Regions from separate parts of the Homo sapiens genome. Here region 1 is linked to region 2. The links are contacts of gene promoters, found by promoter capture Hi-C in blood cells and fetal thymus (Javierre and others, 2016). All regions are on one chromosome and are shown on one strand. Each heading gives the region's core, a stretch centred on a gene start or on the middle of the fragment in contact. The rest is flanking DNA. Distances are from core to core; before and after follow the strand shown.

Evidence for each region. The method cuts DNA at HindIII sites, captures the fragments that hold promoters and counts their contacts. A CHiCAGO score of 5 or more calls a contact.
Region 1: a contact is called between a fragment that was not itself captured here and the fragment with the promoter of PDGFRL in region 2, in 2 of 17 cell types (naive CD8 T cells and total CD4 T cells). The highest score is 6.3, in naive CD8 T cells.

What each region holds. Positions count from the first base shown.
Region 1 is chr8:17,695,649-17,701,453 of GRCh38, reverse strand. All of the region lies in intron 6 of MTUS1 (microtubule associated scaffold protein 1), which reads left to right. Among named protein-coding and RNA genes, the nearest start is that of MIR548V, 17 kb to the right of the region's middle. The HindIII fragment of the contact is 8,441 bases long and covers 1-5,805 here.
Region 2 is chr8:17,573,542-17,579,467 of GRCh38, reverse strand. It overlaps PDGFRL (platelet derived growth factor receptor like), which reads right to left and starts at 2,252. Exons shown (of 6, transcript NM_001372073.1): 1 at 2,161-2,252. The coding sequence starts at 2,215. RefSeq lists silencers at 1,847-1,896, 1,987-2,046. The HindIII fragment of the contact is 7,010 bases long and covers 1-4,181 here.

The sequences.
Region 1 (5,805 bases), core at 2,507-5,006, 120 kb before region 2:
AAATAAAAGGCAATGTCACTGTTCTTTGAGAGCTTATCATCTTACAGGTGGGTGGAAGTTGATTGTTTTTCTAATTGCTTTGTGTTAATTTTTTGATAATTACAATTTATCTTCGTACTGAGGAAGAGGATAGTGTGGAAAAATTGGGCCTTAAGTTGAAGTTTCTACAACTGGAATAGAGAATTGAACTTACTACATTAAAGACTGTGAGGAGTAAAATGAAGAAAATGTTGCAATTAATGCTGTGTTAGGGAAAGTAAGGAGATAAATATAAAGATTAATATTCCATATTAGGCTAAGGAAGATTGGTTGGATAGAGATGCTTGAATCTCCACACAAGTCACTTGGTTTAAATTTTAATCTTCTTCCTCATTCTTTATGATCATTAACAACAACAAACAATAACAGATAAATTGAAGGCATTTTGTAGCATCTAAGCACCCCATACAGATTATGCTAGATTCTTGTCTAGAATCATGACATCATTGTTTTCTAAATCACTGATTTAAAAAAACACATTTCTATGCAGACCAGTGGAATTTCTGTTTGTTTGAATATACTGTGATATTACAACATACTGACTTATGAAACATTCTGTATCATCCTCTTTTGTTATTTAAGCCTTAGTATAGACTTTACACATCGTTTATTTTTCTTTGTGTCATTATGAAAACTCGGCTCATTTTGTAGGCTTTCTATAAAATTATTCTAACACTTAAACTTTTTAATTTTTTTCTGGCTGCATGATTTTTGAAAAAAAAAATTAGGAAAATACAAAAACATATAATAAAGAAAAAATAGAAATCCTCCCTCTTCTACCTCCCAGAGCATTGGTGACATTCTGGCATGTTTGCTCCAATATACTTAATCGTTTTTGTTTAATGTTGAGATCCTACATTGCATAAAATTTTAAATCATGTTTTTGTTTTCCACTGACATCCTAACACAGGCTCTGCTTCATAAAGACTCATCTTTTTTTTTTTTTTGAGGAGTTTTGCTCTTATTGCCCAGGCTGGAGTGCAATGGCACAATCTCTGCTGATTGCAACCTCCATCTCCCAGATTCAAGCGGTTCTCCTGCCTCAGCTTCCTGAGTAGCTGGGATTACAGGCCCCTGTCACCATGCCCAGCTAATTTTTTGTGTTTTTAGTAGAGACGGGGTTTCACCATGTTGGCCAGGCTGGTCTTGAACTTCTGACCTCAGGTGATCCCACCTGCCTTGGCCTCCCAAAGTGCTGAGATTACAGGCATGTAATCTCACCACCGCGCCCGGCCCATAAAGACTCATAGCTAACTTTTACAACTACAAACTGTTGTACTTTAGGCACTAAAATTTCCTTATTTTTTCCTCTACTGTCCTTGGTGATGCCTATCTTTTCCTCTTAAATTAAGACTTTTAAAAATAACAAAGATGCTTTTTTTAGGTACTTCTCACATTCGTTCAATTTCAGAAAATATGGAGTTCCTAACTGGTAACAGATGATCAAATAATCAAAGAATTTTTTGGAACCAATTTTTTATCTTGGCTCCCCCCAGAGGCATATATAGTATAAAAATAGTTGTGACCTGAAAGTAATTGCTTATCCAGTTATTTAAATGAGCAAACGTAAAGTGTGTAAGAGAGTGCTTGGAGCAGTAGATTGTAAGCGATGGCCATTTGTTTATGGACTGCCAAGGCAGCTCCCTTGCTTTGGTGCACTTGTGCTGCACGGCCACCAGGAGGCAGACTATGTTTGGGAAAGAACTGAATTTAGTTTATTCCTGCAGCTTCTTGCTCTGCTGTTAAGAGATATCATTAACAATGTTTATTTTCAATATGTGTGGTTATAGCTTAATGTAATTCAAGTAAAAATGTTAATGAATCTGATTAATCGATGATTAGATGGTAATTTCTTCTTTTAGGGAGTCTAAAGAACTTCCCTTTTAACAAGGATAATTTAAGGCTGGGCGTGGTGGCTCACCCCTGTAATCCCAGCACTTGGGAGGCCGAGGTGTGTGGATCACCTGAGGTCAGGAGTTCGAGACGAGCCTGGCCAACATGGTGAAAACTCATCTCTACTAAAAATACAAAAATTAGCCAGGCATGGTGGCGGGCACCTGTAATCCCATCTACGGAGGCTGAGGCAGGAGAATCACTTGAACCCGGGAGGCAGAGATTGCAGTGAGCAGAGACTGCGCCATTACACTCCAGCCTGGGCAACAAGAGTGAAACTCCATCTCAAAAAACAAACAAAAACAAACAAAAAAGGATAATTTAGAATTTGCTGTTACTGAAGAAACAACAAACACAACCAAAAGAAAGAAAAACCACCTCCTACTATATGGAGTGGTGGCATGTCTGTTTTTAATCATGGCAAAATTTGACTCTGTTCTTCTGTTTGTTTTTAATGCTGATTGGTTTCTTGGTTTTTACAAGGTTTTGGGAGGTAGAGGAAAAGGTTCTGGTATATTTTTAGTATGTAGAATCTGGAAGGAAAAGGTGTTCAGGTTTTTTAATAATAAACTGGGATGAAGTAAAAGGCAACACCTAGAAGCAGCTGGCCTTGATTTTAATTCCTTGATCATTTAGCTTCAGTTGCTGTGGTGCAATGTATGTAGCAGGTTTTTCGTCAGTGTATGAACTAGGTGTATCTTTCTCACAGGAACCCTGGACAGGTTATTGGGTCTGTCTCTCTTGCTGACAACCTCTAAAATGGCAAGTTGGGGGCTTGAGTGAAGAGGGAGGGGGCTTGAGGGAAGAGAACTTATTTAAATTTTCTCTTCCTCCCTCTCTCTTCCCTGCTTCATACCCTACTCTATAGAATTTCTAAAAGAACTGCTTCCTGCTAGTTTTAATAGCACTTAATAGTGTTATTTATGGTAACAATTCTGCATTTATTTCTGAGTCTTATTTTCTAGGAAATCTTGGAAACAGGCATAGGACATTTTTAAAACATTGTTTTGTTTATAACATTTTTAAAAATGTTAAGAGCTCAGGCTATTCGTGGTTTAATGGAATTAGCTTAAGTGGGCATATTGTTGTTGTTAATTCTTATAACCATATCTTTGTTTTTCAAGTTCTTTTGGTTTTGCTATCATGTTTTAACATACTTTTACAAGCCACTCTACTGAAATAAAAATTAGTAGATAACTGGCAAAAGATATTCATAACTGTGCCCTCCTCACACTCCTAGTCTTGAAAGACCACTATAAGAGACCACATGATGTTCTATAAATGCAATTACTCATGCAATAAATGTAGTCTTTAGAATATGCCTATCTGATGGACTATTCTTCTGGAACTCTGATATTACATCTGATAGAGAAACCGTATTAATCTTTTACTGTTGATTATTTGTGAGGTCCTCAGCATGTGGGAATTAAAGTTGAACTTTAACCTTTTGACAATCTGTCATTAATATATTAGAATAGAAATTTTCTTAAATATTGTAGTTGAGAACATTTATTGCCTGAAGTCTTTAAAAAAAAAACTTTTCCAAAATACCAGGTTTAAATGTAGTTTACATGTAAAATATCTAGAGAAAAAATGCTCATGTTATCATTGTGAATATAAGGAGTGAAAAATGTTAAAATCAGGACACAGTTTACTTTCAGGAAATCCTAATTTTTTTCTAATTATGAAAGAAACATTAGGCACTTGAAGTAGTTAATTTCCCCTAGCGATCTTTCAAGTGGTTACAGGATCTGTGACATTATTGGTTGTTCTGTAAAGCTCCTGAGACCACCCACTTTCTCCTCCCCTTTACCATCTCGGATGAAAACCATAACAACTCCACAAGCATGCACAGTGTGATGTGGTTCAGAGGCAGCTTCTAGACCTGCAGGAGGGAGATTGTATTCAGAGGAAGAGCATCATTTTGGCAACATCTGAAAGTGAAAACGGAAGCCAGAAACACTTGGCCAGCCCTGGGGGATTTTTTTCTTCTATGCCTCTCTGGTGGAATGACATTTGCTGTGTAGGCATCTTTCCTCTGACTGTATTTCTTGGCCTTGAAGAGTACTGAGTTTAAAAAGACAGTATGTGACAGTCCATGGAAATTGCCTCTTCTGTGAAATCTCGCCACCTGCTCCGAAGACATGTTGTTGTCTCCCAAATTCTCCTTATCCACCATTCACATACGACTGACGGCCAAAGGATTGCTTCGAAACCTTCGACTTCCTTCAGGGTTTAGGAGAAGCACTGTTGTTTTCCACACAGGTCTGTCTCGCATAGATCTCTGTTTAGTGTTGCACGGGGGATGTCTTCATTAATTTGCAGATGTTTATCAGAGGTTTTTCCAAGGAGACAGATAATTGGAGGAAAAAAGCTCTCTCTAATGAGAGATGAGGCTTAATTTAAAAATTGTTTTCTGTTGCTTCAGCACAAGTGCATAGTACTTTTACTTTTGGCAGCAGATTGTGTTGTTTGTGTTGATGGAAGGCAGAATTGTTGCCTTGGTGTTCCCTAGCTCTTTTCTCCATCACCAGCCAAATGTGTGAAAATCAGCACCTGTTAAATTATATTTTAGTTCCAGTGTTTGGGAAATAGGACACAGGTAAATTTAGAAGAATATTTCCTGTTCGCCTGTGTAGATGAGAAGGTTCCCATCGTTTTTCATTGGATAGTTTCTCAGTCAGATTTGACAGTTAATTTTAATATGCTAAAAGATTTCTGTATACTAAACACTTCTGACAGAAAACATCCTAATGGTTATGGGGAAGTAGTAAGTGAATCACAAATCTAGTTTTCCAATCTTCATAATAAAAGTGTGTGCAGTCTCAAAATACTTCCCCTGAGGTTTATGTTTGTATCTGCTTATTATTTTCGGTGCCTAAGATGAAAATAAATTTAGTATATATTTTAGGCACGTGGTGACCTGTCTGCTCACTTTTAGGGCATTGGGTTGGCCTATGTTGCTACTTTTGTCCTAGATGATTTTACAGCTACAGTAAATTAAATCAGTTTTATTCTGTAAAATATGTTAGCTGGGGTGTTTTTATATTTGTTTTGGGCTGAATAGCGTTAGGTGTCACAGGAATGTTTGATGAGGATGTAAATAGATTTTTGTTTCTGCTTCATGTGCACGTGACCCCTCGTGTTTCTTATTTTCCACGTGGCTCATCTCTGTCCCTGGTGATTTGTTTTCAGCTGACTATTTTTAGTTTTCCCAGAGGCATCTCCCTTCTCTGTGGGAGAATTCTCATTTTTTCCAGCACCTCTCTCTCGTGTTTCATAACTCCCCTTGACCTGTCATTTGATTTTGCCAGCCTCTCCCTTTCAGTCTGAGCTGACGGTAAATGGGGGGAGGCAGCGAGGAGGAGGTCAGCAGTGGCCCTCCTCTCCCAGCTCAGGGCCGCTGCAGCCCTTCCAACTGAACAAATTAATAGGGGGGAAAAATAACAAAGGGTGCCCTATATTTGCAATAATTTGTCTGATCTAAAGTAGCTCCAAATAGCTTTTAATTTTAAAGAGTTCTTTTAAAAATACTGTAATCCACGCTCCAAGTTAAAAATCAAACAGTATGGAAGGTTGTGCAGTCCTAGGCAAGCCTCTCTCTTACCCAGAGTCCCTGTCTGCTCTCCGTGGAGACAGCCGCTCTCAGCTGCTTGCATAGTGTTCTTGCACGTTTCCAGTCACATGTAAATCTATGCAGGTCTTTTTTATTCTTTTTTGTTATACAGAAATAAAAGCGTACTATATATTCTATACCTTTTTAAAGTTAATGTGTTTTAGATTTGCATGTGATCACATGTTTATCTACCTCATTAAAAAAAATAGTTCTGTAACATTCCATTATTGGGTAAGTCATGATTTACTTAACCAGTG
Region 2 (5,926 bases), core at 1,003-3,502:
TGTCTGTAATTTGTGCTTTGGGATGGCCTTGAAGGCAGGATATTCCCAACCTGCCAATCTGAGACCAGCACTGGAAGGGCCTCCTGTGTAATCCACTCTCCTTAGTAGCTCCTGGCCACAACTCACAACACAACTCAAAACCAAAAACCATTCTTAATAGGTTTAGCCAAACGGTTACATAACTTAATGAAGCACTGTGTGTTCACTATTGTATCCATAAATAGTCCATACATTATAGATATGTGTGCTTTTATTTTTATCTTTATTTTCTTGAGATGGAGTCTCACTTTGTCGCCCAGCTGGAGTGCAGTGGTGCGATCTCGGCTCACTGCAACCTCTGCCTCCCAGGTTCAAGCAGTTCTCTGCCTCACCCTCCCAAGTAGCTGGGATTACACGTGCCCACCACCACGCCCGGCTAATTTTTATATTTTTAGTAGAGACGGGGTTTCACCATCTTGGCCAGGCTGGTCTTGAACTCCTGACCTTGTGATCCACCTGCCTTGGCCTCCCAAAGTGCTGGGATTACAGGCATGAGCCACTGTGCCCGGCCAGATGTGTGTACTTTTATAAACAAAATCTTCGTGCTATTATCACCTAAAATTTATGAACTATTTCTTACATTCAGTCTGTATTCCACTTTCTCCAATTGTCTCATAAATGCTTATTGTTTGTATGGATTACACTTAAAGAAAGGGTAAATTTAGTCAGATGTTTGTAATAAACTCACATGGGCTGGGTGAGATCCAGGAGGCAGAATGGAAGTCAATTTCTGAGCCTCTAAGACTGGCAAGTTGGGTATAAACAAAGGAATGGCTGATTTGAAATTATTTTGCCTGGCCATCTCCTGCCCTATTCAAAAAATGATACTACAAATTACATTTCTGCCTTTTCAGCGGTTGCACACAAGGGCCTGCCAGGAGCATTTTAATATTGCATTTTACAAACTGAACTCATGGCAACTTCTCTCTGGGCAGAGTTAAGTGTTACTCTCCCAGTAGAAGCTCTGCCTACGTTTTATTAAGCAAAGCTCTAGGCTGAAGGACCCTCATGCTCAACTTCAAGTACCACGACTATCTTGGATTTTGCAAACTACAATGCGGTATTTTTTTGGCAAATGTAGTTTCCTAGGAAAGAAAGGAACTGGTCAGGATGAACGAGTGGATAAAAATGTGAGCCAGGTCGAGCTGGCTCCAGCATGAAGTTGCATAACAGCAAAAGCTACTTTTCCACTAAATCTAAGCAAAAATTGTGTTGTAGCCCAGGAATTTCAAGAGAGGGTTGAGGACACCAGGAGGCACCCAGATGAAACATGTACTGTACAAATAACACCCATGGAGTGAATAGAGCAAACAAAACATTTAAATGCTAACAATAATATATAATACACACCACAGTAATACACACACCCAGACACACAGAAAAATAACACCAGACCCTGTGGTCACGGGTGTACACGACAGGGTGGACCCAGGACAGGTACACATTCAAAAACGCGCAGCGGTCATGGTCCCATAAGCTGTACCAAAAAAATGCATTTTCTTCACCATTTCCCATCCAATTAGATAAATATAATAAGCCGTGGGCTTTTGATTCGTTTTGAAGTTTCATACACTGACATTTTTGTTCGAAGATCTAGGCAGATCTTGCAGGATTCAAGCAAAAGGTGGTAGACGAAAACACGCCCAGAACTGCGAGGGGAGGGGGAGGTCACCTGGAACTCTGCAACCGAATCAGCGATTGCCGAGCTTAGGTGGCACTCGCTCTCAGCAGCAGAGGTCCCAGCCACGCCGCTGGGAGGTGGAAGCGATCCGAGGCTCCCGCCCCACCTCCCAGACCGACACGTTGACACTGGGGGCTGGACCAGGCGCTGGCTGGGGATGCTTGGTTCGCCCGGAGATGGGGACTTGGAGAGGTCCTGGTGGGCTCCTAAGGGTCGGGGTAGCTGCCACCACCCCTAGAGGGCTCTCCGGGCAGGCAAAGAGTGGGAGGAAAGGAGACCCCACCAGGAGGGGGCAGGTGCACCGGGCAGGCAGTGGCGCGGGGGCTGAGCCACCGAGGGCCGAACGTTAGACCAAGAGCTGGCAGGAGGGCGGCGGGGGCTTCGGGTCCCGGCTAAAGTCAGGGCACAAGCTAGGTGGCCCCGCGCCCAGAGTCACTCACCATCCTCCAGCGCTTCGTGCACCAGCAGAAGACCAAGCAGCAGCCAGACCTTCATCTCGGGAACCTCGGACCTCGGAGCGCAGGAGCGCGGCGGCTGCGCGGGGCGGGGACGCAGGGGAGGCGGCGGGCGAGGGGCGGGCTCCTGGGACGCCGAAGCGGGAGGATTCGGTTTCTTCAGGAGGAACAAGGTTTGGGGGAAAAAGTTGGGGAATTTTTTTTTTTTTTAGTTCTCTGTGTAATGTGACTTCTCCTGCCCCCTGGCGGAGCCGCGGTGCGCAGCACTTCTTCCCAGCGCGGGGAGGAAAGGCTAAGCGTGAAATGTACATTACAACAGCCATTCCTTGAATTTCTCCAACGCTTGGCGTTTTCACCAAGGTTATCAAGTTCAAGAAGGATCAGCGGGTGCTGATGGGGTCACTTTTAACCACGATTGTCCAAATGTTACCAGCGCCCGCCCCACCTCCTCAGGCAGAACCTGAGTGCTCTGTAAAAAGTGCTTCCTAAATTATTTCTGTTCATTCCATTTCTCTCCCCCACATGCACTCACTCACAGGACCGTTGCCCCGGGTTCTTGCTGCTCCTCTGTGTCTGGCCAGAGTTGGTCTCCGCACCCAGCCCTGTAACTGCTGGTGGGGGTGGGAGGACGGGTTCATTACAGGAATAACGTGGAAAATGAGACTGTGCAGACAACCCGGGCCTCTGGTGGTGAGGCAGGAGAACAGGGAATTAGGGTAAGCACGGGCTAGGGTATGAGCAGGAGAACAGCAGGTGCAGCCAGTTCGCAGAAGCAAAAGATCAGCAGGTGCAGACAGTTCTAGGCATGATTAGGCGGCACACAGGCCACATCCTCGCTCCTCTGATAACAAGGCAGAAGTTTCCACTTCAGCCTCGGACTGGTCGCAGGCCAGTCCTTCGTAAGGTGTAACCAGTTGGAGGCCTCTAAAGGGAACCCAAGGGTGTTGCCAAGTTCTTTTCGCTTTATAAAATCCCTGGGGAGCGTCAGGCTCTTGTGGCTTGCTGCAGCGCCCTCTGTGAATTGTCTTCTATAAATCTACGTTTTCCTTCCTCCCTTCTGTTGCTTTGTTTTTCCTTGCTTCTTTCTTTCGTTACTCCGTGCATTTCGTTCAATTTTTTGTTCAACAGGCCAAGAACCTGGACAACTCTATCAGGTAACAGTGGGGCAGAAGATACGGGCTTTCACAAGTCCCTCTGCAGAGAGCCATCCTGCGTTTCTGAGCTTGCAGACTCTCATGATCAAAGCAGTTTGCTAGCGGGGGAGATGCCTGTGTGTGTTCCCCCGGTGAGAAGCAGCCCATCTCATTGTAATCTTCAGCACCAGGCACTGCTATTAAAGGGAGCTCAATTCTAAATAACAGGAAAGGGACTTGTCCCTCAACACCCAACGAAAGAAGTGCTGCCATTTATAACAAACTAATGCTTCTCAGTCACTTCTGCAGGAGGAACCAAGAATTCTATATTCTGTTGCCAGCTCTAGCCGGAGCTTTGCCACTCGCTTGCCTTGCGATGCAGAGAGCAGTTGGCTGGGAATAAAGACCAGAGTTCAGATGCTGACACTGGCACAAACTCTCCATGCCTCTCAGAATTCACTTAACCTTCTGGGTTTTAGCATCTCTTGTTTATTAAGAAAGGGAACTAGGTGATTATTTCAACAGGAGTTTGCTATGTGATTAACATTACGGCTATGAAGGTTGAGACATCATCTCTCATGGCTACTTTTAAGGAGTGAACAAGCATTTAGACCACTGCAATGTGGTGTGTCAGGTTCTGGGGAGAATTCTGAGCAAAGGACTTGGAGCATGCACACAGGAGAGAGTAAATCTGCCTAAATTGCCCCACCGTGAGATTTCTTTTCATTCTGACCCCATGAATTGACTGCTTAACTCTCACTCCATGTTGGAGCCTGGGGTTGGGTCTAGATTCCTCCTCTCGGTCGCAGTATCCCCTCCATGCTGACTATGCATGTGCCAGGTCCACCTCTCTTGTGCCATTATTGTCAAGCTTCACTGCCCTGGCTCAGCTACATTTAGCCGAGAGTCGTCCCTCTTTCTCTTGCCGCTTAGAGGCTCTTCTTGGGGGGCTGAGGCGAGAGAGTCATTTGAGCCTGGGAAGCGAGGTTGCAGTGAGCTGAGATGGCACCACTGCACTCCAGCCTGGGCGACAGAGAGAGACTGTCTCAAAATAAATAAATAATAAATAAATAAATAAAAGCAAAGAAGAGAGGCCTCAGAGAATACCCATTCTTCTGCCACCTTGCTCTCAGATTTCTGCCATTCAGAACTATAAGAGAATACATTTCTGTTCTTTAAACCACGCACTCTGTGGTTCTTTGCTATGGTAGCCCCAGCAAATTAATACAGGGGTCTGTATTAAGATGGGAACAGAATTCATAAGAAGTATAAGGGCTTCCCAAGACACGTAGCTATTTCATCACAAGGCTTATTATCCTTGAATGAGACAATCTCAAGATGATTTTAAATTTGAAAACAAAAACTGCCAAAGCTGTATTTTTCACAGGTCTTATTTCACTATAAAAATCCACGTGCTTTGTCTCTAGGGTGAGAAAGAATTTTATTATTAGAATGTCGTGTTGATCTTTTCCATTCCTTCTCCAACAATTACTATAATGTTAGCCAATTAAAATAAACATTATCTTGCAGCTCTAAATCAAATACAACTTGAAGCCTGCTTTCCCAAGGCCTGATTTTTTTTTTTTGTATGTTTAGCTTGTATCTGGTCACCTTAATGGACCTTCTTAGTAGCTTAAATAGTTTTCAGTTGATCTCTTGGGTTTTTAGATAAACGATCACATTACCTGTAACACCCACTTTTCTTTCTTCTCTTTTCTTTGAGATAAGTCTCACTCTGTTGCTTAGGCTGGAGTACACTGGCATGATCACAGCTCACTGCAACCTCCACCTCTCCGGCTCAAGCAATTCTCCTGCCTCAGCCTCCTGAGTAGCTGGGACTACAGGTGTGCGCCACCATGTCTGACTAATTTTTGTATTTTTAGTAGAGATGGGTTTTCGCTGTGTTGGCCAGGCTGGTCTCAAACTCCTGACCTCAAGTGATCCTCCTGCCTCAGCCTCCCCAAGTGCTGGGATTACAGGTGTCAGCCACCGTGCCTGGCCATTTTCATTATCTATTTTAATTAACGGTAGCTTTCTATGCTTACCCATGAAATCTCCCTACTCCATTGCCTTCCGTGCTTTTTATTTGCCCCTTTGAAGTGGTGAATACCATTAGGAATTTGTTAGGTAAGAAAAAATCAGCCAATATTTTGGGCATCCCTTCTCCATCCCCAAGATAAGGACACGTAACTTCTCTAACTAGTCTTCGTTAACTACAGACATACAACCAAGATGATTTTTTCACAAAAATCTATCAGGGGAATCCGCCCCCAATATTTCAACGTAGGTTCTTTTTATTTTCCTTAAGTGTCGGCCGGCTGAGAAATAAAGAGAAAGAGTACAAAGAGAGGAATTTTACAGCTGGGCCGCCAGGAGTGACATCATACATTGGTAGGACCGTGATGCCCACCTGAGCCTCAAACCAGCAAGTTTTTTATTAAGGGTTTCAAAAGGGGAGGGGGTGTAAAAACAGAGAGTAGGTACAAAGATGACACGCTTCAAAGGGCAAAAAGCAGAACAAAGATCACGTGCTTCTGAGGGAACAGGACAAAGGTCAAAAGCAGAACTACTGATAAGGGTCCAACAAAGATCACAAGGCAAAGGGCAAAAGCAGAACC